3 separate regions of the Homo sapiens genome follow, and regions 2 and 3 are each linked to region 1. The links are contacts of gene promoters, found by promoter capture Hi-C in blood cells and fetal thymus (Javierre and others, 2016). All regions are on one chromosome and are shown on one strand. Each heading gives the region's core, a stretch centred on a gene start or on the middle of the fragment in contact. The rest is flanking DNA. Distances are from core to core; before and after follow the strand shown. Region 1 holds the start of MKLN1-AS (MKLN1 antisense RNA). Region 2 overlaps LINC-PINT (long intergenic non-protein coding RNA, p53 induced transcript). Region 3 overlaps LINC-PINT (long intergenic non-protein coding RNA, p53 induced transcript).

Region 1 (3,039 bases), core at 236-2,735:
TTTTCCAACCTGCTGCAACACAGAAAGCACATGTAATTTTTTATTTTATTGTATTTTATTTGTTTTTCTGAGACAGAATTTCACTCTGTTGCCCAGGCTGGAGTGCAGTGGTGTGATCTTGGCTCACTGCAACCTCTGCCTCCTGGGTTCAAGTGATTCTTGTGCCTCGGCCTCCCAAGTAGCTGAGATTATAGGTGTATGTCACCACACGCAGCTAACTTTTGTATTTTTAGTAGAGACGGGGTTTCACCATGTTGGCCACGCTGGTTTCGAACTCCTGACCTCAGGTGATCCACCCACCTCAGCCTCCCAACGTGCTGGGATTACAGGTGTGAGCCACCGTGCCGGGCCTGGCCTTTCTATCTGGCTTTTTTGATTTGATATCCTAGTAGAGCCCACTATTAAAATTTCCATCTATAGAAACAGGAAGTCAGGAAAGGACTGGAGGGAATTTCGGCAGGTTAATGATTACAACGGGAAGAGAATACAATTATTGAGGTGTTTTGACTCACTTGGTCATTTCCTGAGAAACTCTTTGCTTGAATTTTTCCACTCTTCAGGTGAAGATGATGACACTGTCCAGGCTTTCAGGAGTCCAACCTCTTAGACAATAAGCGACATACTCTTTGGTAACTGCAGTGGCTAAGCCAAGGAATAAATATGCATAACTACAACAAACAGGTACTTGATGAGAACGTTATCTAGAGCTGCCAGATAATTTAGACCAAGTGCACCTTTTGTTGTAAGAAGCTGGTATGATGTCCACATAGTTTTCAGGGCTGCTGTTCCCTCTAAGAAGAAGGAATAGTCTTTTTCCTGAACTACTCTCTCTCTGAACTTTTAGGCTACAATTATGTCAGTTCAAAGTGGGCAGATTTGCCAACTGAAAAAATGATGACACGCAGCTTCCCAACTCTGTAAGGACTTTTCAGGTCTGTGGGTGAACGTCATTCCCGAGCAAACCAATGCCACAAGATTAGTAGGATGCGGCTCACAAGAAATGTTTACAATGAAGGGCATCACAGACTGCAAACCAAACAGGGTAGGAGGACACGGGACCATTTCCTTTTCCTGTCTCCATCTGACTCTGGAAGGCGGGGACAAGACATTTAAAACCAGGACCACTCCAGGAGGACAGCACATTAGCTACTGCCCTCCAGCTCCCTTCAGTGTTGTTTCCGTAAAGGACTTATAAACTGGCGAGGGCGGTGGCTTCCAAAAGCGCACAGGCGTCCCTTTTCCAACTTGGTCTTCTTATTTTCCCTTCCTGCTCCATAACTACAACGTGTTTCTGTTCGTAATCATCTCGGCTTTTCCTTACCTCTGCTTGTAAGAAAAGTCCTTTGCGCCATTCCCCTCCAAGCCCCAGGGAAGGGCCTGGAAAGCGCTTACACCTCAGACCCAGTGTCGGTCAGCCGTCAAGGAGCGAGCGACGTGGGAAACCCTGAGATAGGACATTGGCCCGGCGCTGGGCTCGGGTAACGATGCGGGGCGGGGAGCGCGGGCGGCCGGGGAGGGCGGCGGCCCCTTTAAGAGCAGGCCACGCCCCCTCCCCTCCTCCCGTTCGCTGCCAGCGGTCGGTGGCGGCCGCTACGGTGCTGACAAGATGGCGGCTGGCGGAGCTGTCGCTGCGGCGCCCGAGTGCCGGCTTCTCCCCTACGCGCTACACAAGTGGAGCTCCTTTTCCTCCACCTACCTTCCCGAGTAAGTGCCGGGCCTTGAGCTCGTGCTGCCCCACCCTTCCGCGTCAGCACGGTTGGGCCAGGGGTGCAATGGAGGGCAGCCGAGCCGAGAGGCCCAGGCGGGGCCTGCTGAGGGGGACGTGCGGCCTCCGGAGTCTTAGTTCAGCTGCTGAGAGCGTTGCTCGGCCTCGCTCGGGAAGGGGTTAGGGTCCGGAGAGCGAGCCCAGGGAGAAGGGGCGAGGTGTGTGGCGGATCCGGGGCGCGCACAGGAGAACCGGAAGCCCAGCGGTTCTGCGCTTGGGATTTGGGGGTTGAGGTTGAGGAGGGCTTGGGGGGCGGACGGCTCTGGGGCAGGAATCGGAGTTGGCGGGGCCCTGCCCGCGGGCAAACTACCCCGAATGTCTGAGGTCGTCCGAGGTGGTCGGCGTCGGGGGACAGTTCAGTCGATTGCTGCCGGGACAAAGTGTAAAGCCGAGGAGTGTCTATTCCAGAGTGGGGTCATTAAAAGTGATTAGCTCTAGAGTAGTGTTAAAAGTCACGGAAGGCTGAAAAGTTGTGGAATCCATCTGAATCCTAGCAGGCGGGGAGAACTTGTAGGATTGGCAGACGTTGTCTTTAATGCCTGGAAGTTCTGAAAAAGATAGGGAGTGGGAAGGAGGGACGTTACCGAAGAATTTCAGTATTACGGCTCATTAGAAGATGGGTTTGTATGGACACAGACACGTTTCCCAGTCCGGAAACTCAAACATAGAAACATCTGGCTTTAATGAATTTGATTTTCAACACCGGCTTTGTCTTGATCCCTGATTTAGGTGTTAAAAAAATTCAGTTGCATTGTTAGGTTTTTGTTGGTGGTGTTTTTTTCTCTAGCAAATTCCTTCTGAAATGCTGAAAATACTCTTACATAGTATCTTATTTATCTTTGGCTTATCTTTGAAAGGAGGAGCAGATCTAACTCCAATTTTACATGCTAGTGGAGGAACTGGCTTAGTAAAGGGTTAAGATCTGTGCAGATCCTGAAGAAAAGTGCTAGTTGTCCCTCTAACCATCTCACAGGACCGAAACGATTTTATGAACGAAACAAATTAATGAATAATATATTTTACTGAGTATTTTACTAAACAAAAAAGTGACTAGATCTGTGAAGCATACTCAAGTAAGTTTTCCATCTGTATTTGAGAAATTCTTCACATTTATCCAAATTTGATTTCACTGGTTATATCAATGAAGAATCTCAAAATGGAGCTGCAACTGGAAGAATCTGTCATGACTGCCAGCCTCCCATTTTATTCACCAGGTCAAGGGTTGGCATTCAGTAGGATCTGGCCCAATGAAGGGTGCCAAGTGACCTGTGGTT
Region 2 (3,168 bases), core at 366-2,865, 300 kb before region 1:
AAAATGTTTCTCATATCCTTCAGGTCACCTGAGTAGAAACCTATATAAAAAGGGTGAGTGTGAAGAGTTAAGAGGAAAACCTTTAGCAAACTGAGGTTGTTTCTACTTGCTAAAAGGGTCTCTCATTTCTATTCATGAATGGCCTTTCTACGCTTTCTCCTGAGCCACAGAAGAGGACATTTCAGCACAATCTAAGGTAGACTGAAACAAGTAAAACATCTGGATAAACTCCCCCATGAACACTGAAAAAAGAAACATGACTAATAAGCTCTCTTCTCCACATGCTGGAGATTCTACTGATGGTAACACATTCAGATACAAACACGTGAACCAATAATAACCAACCTCACTGCTAAAGCAGTCACTTGAAGCGATAACCTCACTTCTGCTTTCCCAAATAGGTGAGTATAAAATATATACATATATATATGAACATTCCCTTCCAAGACAGAGCATTAAAAAGATAAAGCAACACACACACATACACACACACACGCACACACACACCCCCCTTAATAACAGTGTGTGTCCTTTAATTAAATGTTGGCCTTTTTAATTTACTTATTTTAAGTTGTTGTTTCTGTGATCTCAATCTGACAAGGATTGCATTTGAGGATTAAAATTGCCGAGCACATACCTTTTTAGTTCCTCATCTTTTAATTACTACATAAGTGGTTGCCTAGGAAACCTCCAGACCGAATGATGAAACTCAAATGAATTCTCCTTTCTAAGCTTGCAGGTTTGACTCACTACCTTTGCTCCCCAAAAACTAAGTCCTCCGGAATTATTAAAGCCAGATATTTTTGCAACCTGGATGACATGCGAAAAAAAACATAAGAGGTGAATAATTATTTATTCTGAATACAGGTTTCTTAGGGAAATAAAAGTTAAAAAGGCCAAGTCCCTACTCACAGCAAATTCAGAAGAGAAATGCATGTCTTCAAATATACCCATACTATCTGTTACCAGGTAATTGTGGAGTGTTATTTTATGGCAGTATGTTAACATGGTAGTGATTAAACATTATAATGAAAGACAATAGAGAAGAACCTGGGAAAGCAGACCATGGAGACACCAAAGCAAAATAATGTCAGAGGGGGTGCAACCCCCCAATCACTGCAGAAATCACCCCTAGCTCCGCCCCCAGCTCCGCCCCCAGCTCTGGTTCCCTGTCCTTTCTTACAATCTGGCTCTACCTCTGCCCAGAATGACATGACATCATCACTGAACAGTGGCAAGAAAACATAGATCTATTTTGCTGTATGCCAAGTAAACAGGGCTGATCACCATACACAAATATGTATGCAACTTAGCATAAACGCATCTCAGAAGATTCTGTTTTAACCACAGCAGATGCACTGAAGTAGGCTCATCTGGCGGCCCTCGGAGGAAGGACCGAGTGTTGCATAATTCCAGCAAATGAGAGCAGAAATACTGAGAACAGCCAGAACACCCAGGCCAGATGGTACTGTGGTTCTGAAGCAGTGCCTGAGGCTAGAGACGTGAGCAGGCCCGGGAAAGACAGAGATGGGGCAAGTGGGCTCAGTGGCTGGAGGCAGAGTACACTCAGCAGAAGGCCTTTGACTACTTTCTCTCAGCCCTGATCTCAAAGTCTGGCTGCTTCCTCTAACATCCTTGCATCATGATCTTACCATCATTTACTTTAAATTTAAAAATTTTGAACCAACTCTTCTGGAGGAAAAGCAACAACCAATTTCCACCTCCATCCCCCCAGCTATGCTTCTGCCTCGGGGTAGAGGAGTTTGAGTAGGAGAGGAAAAGACAGATCAGAACTCAAGGCTCTCAGGCTGGGCACGGTGTGGCTCTTGCCTGTATTCCCAGCACTTTGAGAGGCCAAGGCAGGTGGATCACTTGAGGTCAGGACTTTGAGACCAGCCTGGCTAACATGGTGAAATACTGTCTCTACTAAAAATACAAAAATTAGCTGGGCATGGTGGGATGCGCCTGTAATCCCAGCTATTTGGGAGGCTGAGGCAGGAGAATTGCTTGAACCCAGGAGGCGGAGGTTGCAGTGAGCCGAGATTGTGCCACTGCACTCAATCAAGCCTAGGCAACAGAGCAAGACTCCATCTCAAAAAAAAGACAAAAAACAAAAAACAAAAAAACTCAAAGCCCTCATCATTTCTCCCCAGGATAACTAAACTTTTCTGCCAACTACTATTCCCACTGCTCCAACCTCACACTGCAGCTAATCCACTCCCTACAAGGATGGTCGAGATTTTCCTCCACTTAAATGAATTCCCTCCCTGGCTTCCACACTGCCCTCAGGATGAAAACCCAAGTTCCTCTCAGCTTAGTTTAGAAAGCTCTTCACCAGGTAGGTCCTTGAAAAACTTGATTGCATTCCACTGTAATCTCAAAATTGTCAAAGAAAAACTGTTCCGTACCTGGTCTGGAATAGAACCAAGTGGTCTGCTAGAAAATTCACAGTATCCTACTAGGAAGAAATGAACAGCATTCCAGGGAAAAAAAAAAAAAAAAGCTTGCTTTTTTTCTAATGCAATTTCCTAAATGAACTTTAAGGAAATTAAGACTTGCTCTGGGCAACTCATTACCATCTACCCGGCTGACTGTCAACTATCAGAGTGTAGAGGTTTTTAACCAGACATTCGTTTCAATGATGATATTTAATCACTTTCTTCCCTTAATGTCCCTACCAAGAGCGAATCATTGAATGTGCCTACTGCAGGACTCTCTCCTTGCATTGCAAAGCTAAAACAAACTGTTGGCACATGCTCAAAATTAAACTGTCCGAAAAGTTTTAACAAATGCTACCTAACCTAAAGCAGGTCCTTTTACCCTGCAGTCCCCAGGACACTTTTTGGTCTCTGGCCTCCTTGGGCCTTCCAATACTCAGCAACCTCCTCCAGGTAGCACCCACCAGGGCTGACACTTTCCCTCACTCTCTGCCCCAACCCCCCAATGGCAACTCCCATCTTCTCTGGTTAACCTCTATTCATCTCCAAAGTCCATGTCAATCATAGGTCAAATGTTAGTTCCTCCAGGAGAACTTGCCAAGAGGCTGGACCCAAGTCCTTCCAGATGCTTCAGTATCAGAGCTGTTACTGTACTGCACTGCATTTATCTCACCAGAGTGGAAGCTCACTGAGGACAGCACAGGGCCTTTTTATTTCTGTATTCCCCACC
Region 3 (3,280 bases), core at 340-2,839, 320 kb before region 1:
AGAGAAAAACTATCTGACTCAAATTACAGTTACTGTAAAAGTTCATTATTACTTACTAAAAGCCCTCAGGTCTACAGCCATTGGGGGGTGGGGGGGGGGAAGCCTCCTATTTTTAGAAATAAGACTTATTTTCTCATCTTCTGCATGTTTGGTTTAATTTAAACTTATTCTTGGAGTTTCAATAGACATTGATGGCTATGGTCCAGTTGCTGAGGCAAATCTCTCTTTAACTCTATGGGAGGTGAGAGGCTCCAACGGGGACCAGACTTTGGAAACTGCACACCATCAAGGGTTTGCCATTAGAGGACTTCTCTTGTCTAACAGAAACAGGGCAATGCTACAACCTTGTGATTCTTTTCCTTCTTCTAGGCTATCAGGAAGAAAACTGAATATCCTTACATTGTGAGGTCAGATGTATGGCTTTCATTCTGAATGCAGTAACTTCAAATGTAGACACGTGAACAGAAAGCTTTGTAACAGAAAAACAGCATTGTTTCGTTAGATGACTATAGATAGTATTTCATAAAATACAAGAAAAACACTCAAAATTAGCTCCAAAAAATGTATGAAAGGTGATACTCTGATATTTAATAAAACTGAACCTCTCACAACAATAAAATGATCCAATTTCATATACCAATCAATAAGCAAGGGTCTACTAACTTCACCAAGAAAGAGAAAAAAACCTAAGTTAATGCAAAATAATTTGGATCTTAAGGACGTCAATAACATGGGCCTTGCAGAAAGTTCCAAAAAACATGCTTTCATACCTTTAACTCTATGAAAAACAAACAAGCGTTACCTCCTGCAGCTAATGAGCACTGACAGGCTCAAGGTAGTCGCCATGCTATGAAATGTGGCAATAGCTACAATGTCATCTGTTTAGTTGTTCATCAGTTCATTGCTTAGGAGCCACTCAGAAGCAGCTGGGCGCAGTGGCTCATGCTTGTAATCCCAACACTTTGGGAGGCCGAGGCAGAAGGACAGCTTGAGTCCAGGACTTGGAGATCAGCCTGAACAACACAGAGAGACCCTGTCGCTACCAATAAAAAAAATTAGGCGGTCGTGGTGGTGCACACCTGTGGGAATTTGCTGTGCTTGTGGCCAATTAAGTGTTCCACTCTGAGGACAAAAATGAATGAACCTGGGAGTCTAAGATGGGAGGATCGCTTGAACCTGGGAGGTCGAGGTTACAGTGAGCCGTGATTGCACCACCGCACTTCCTACATTCTTTTGCAATAGGAGCCTATTTTAAGTCATTCTTAGACACACAAATAAGTTAATTTTGGGGGGCAGTCTTGATCTGGATTCTTGCTTTCCTCTGCAGCAGTCCTATTATTAAGCACCATCTATACCCAGGGCACTTTCTTTTGCTCATTTTACCCATCCCAAACCTTGGCAGGAAATCCAACAGCAATGCTTTCATTCTTATCCCATCCTAATCTCAAGATATCAGTATGAAAGTCTTGAAAGTAAGGAACTAACTCAAGTAATTTCCACTTCAGATTGACTAATGGCACACTGAATGGCTCCAGCATACTCACTTACTGGCCTCTGGCAAGTGACTTAACCTTCCTTAGTTTCTTCAACCAGCAAATGAGAAGGCAGAACTAGATGACCTCAAAGGGCCTCTCAAGTATCAAAGTTTTGCTTCTGTGAAATACGTATGAGCAAGCACACTCAAGTGTAGACAATATAGATTGGCAAATAAAAGCAAGTAGGACAGCAAGAAAAGTCCCAGACTCTCAGATTCAAATCTAGCGTCTTCTCAGGAACTCAACCTACTCACACAACTATTTCCGAGAGCACTGTTAACTGCTTGTCAGAAAATGCACGTAGTAGTTCCACGGGTCATCACATTAAAAAAAAAAAGATTTGATTTCCATGTTTAAGTCAGTTTCAGAAACTGGGTTAAATAAAGTTAAACAAATTTCTCAACATCCTAGACTTTTACAGTGCTAAGAGGGCATGTGAGTTGCTAGGAGAGGTATTACAACAGAGCATTTTCCCAAACTTAGTTGCCACAGCATCCTTTTTCATAGGGCAAATCCTGCAGATCTTGTGTTCCCGGGAACAACTGGGAGTTTGCTGTGCTTGTGGCCAATTAAGTGTTCCACTCTGAGGACAAAAATGAATGGACTTGAAGGGCCACTCAGGGCCCCACCAGAAGGAGCCTTGGCTGCAGATCAAGACCCTCGACTCCACTGCAGGTTCTGCTGCCAGCTACTAGTTTGCACTGGGCCCCATTTAGCCACCTCCCCAGACCTGCTGGGCCCCACTGGCCTTCCAGGCATCCGCTGCCAGCTTCCTTCCCCAACACCCAGCCTCCCAGGCCCCAGCAGCACAGCACGGGGCCATCCTAGGTCTCTGTTCTCCTCTGACTAAACTTTGCAGAAACACTGGCTGCAGTGGCTGCTCCCATGTCACAATCCGAACAATTTATGGCCTTAATTCCACTATCATCCTAATTTCTACATAATCATGTAATAAATATTGGTAACATTTTGGAATTATTGCATAGAGAATTCTAAAAAAAAAAAAAAAAAAATTCCTAATTGTCTTGAAATGTTCTCCAATGTAGATATAACTAAAGAAAATGAACCACAGTCTCTCTTCCAACTATTTTCTTTTCACAGAACTCTCCTAATTAGCGAACTACAATTAATACTAGAAATTAGAGGAACCACGTGGGATTCTTTGAAACAAAAAAAAAGCTTTTCTGATAAGTATTATTGACTGAAATACAGTTAACATGTTTGTCACTTTCAAAAAGCCACAAATGAATTTCTCTGAAAAACCCAACGTCTTTATAAAAAAAAAAAAAAAAAATTCCACAAAATTGGGGCTCTGCCAAAACGTGAATGTTGCAAAACCATGTGTCACATGCCCTCCTTCAGTTTCATGTTAATCACTACAGCAAGGATTAAACTTTTGGAGACTGGAATTCAGAAAGGTCAGACAGGGATTCAAATGCTGTCCTAGCTGGCTGGGAAGTACTGAGGCAAGTTACTTAATTTTTCTTTAATCCCAGTCCCGTAAGCCATTAAAGGAAAACAGAAATACCCAGCTCACAGGATGGTTAAGTTTTAAGTAACATCAAGCTGAACTTGCCTAGCAGATTGGAACCTACATTAATTAGAATTAGGTTTGGCTCAGGGTGGCAGGAGACCCAAAATATCAGTGGCTTAAACAAGAGAAGTTTCCTTCTCAGGGAAGTGCCCAGGAAGGTTAGCATGGCAGTCCACCCATGTGTGACCTCAACCTCACGGTTCAAGATGGT

What was found. The method cuts DNA at HindIII sites, captures the fragments that hold promoters and counts their contacts. A CHiCAGO score of 5 or more calls a contact.
Region 2: a fragment that was not itself captured here is called in contact with the fragment with the promoter of MKLN1-AS in region 1 in 2 of 17 cell types (neutrophils and total CD8 T cells); the score reaches 7.4 in neutrophils.
Region 3: a fragment that was not itself captured here is called in contact with the fragment with the promoter of MKLN1-AS in region 1 in 6 of 17 cell types (neutrophils, monocytes, total CD8 T cells and 3 more); the score reaches 9.4 in neutrophils.

Annotation. Positions count from the first base shown.
Region 1 is chr7:131,326,294-131,329,332 of GRCh38, forward strand. It overlaps MKLN1-AS (MKLN1 antisense RNA), which reads right to left and starts at 1,486. Exons shown (of 6, transcript NR_125364.1): 1 at 1,322-1,486; 2 at 513-642. MKLN1 (muskelin 1) reads left to right here and starts at 1,583. Exons shown (of 18, transcript NM_013255.5): 1 at 1,583-1,704. The coding sequence starts at 1,607. RefSeq lists enhancers at 1,348-1,924, 1,619-1,918, 1,925-2,501 and a silencer at 1,409-1,568. The HindIII fragment of the contact is 3,998 bases long and covers 1-3,039 here.
Region 2 is chr7:131,026,203-131,029,370 of GRCh38, forward strand. The region is part of intron 3 of LINC-PINT (long intergenic non-protein coding RNA, p53 induced transcript); the gene reads right to left. Among named protein-coding and RNA genes, the nearest start is that of LINC-PINT, 82 kb to the right of the region's middle. RefSeq lists an enhancer at 1,238-1,377. The HindIII fragment of the contact is 1,771 bases long and covers 731-2,501 here.
Region 3 is chr7:131,009,310-131,012,589 of GRCh38, forward strand. The region is part of intron 3 of LINC-PINT (long intergenic non-protein coding RNA, p53 induced transcript); the gene reads right to left. Among named protein-coding and RNA genes, the nearest start is that of LINC00513, 97 kb to the left of the region's middle. RefSeq lists enhancers at 84-133, 164-293. The HindIII fragment of the contact is 2,245 bases long and covers 468-2,712 here.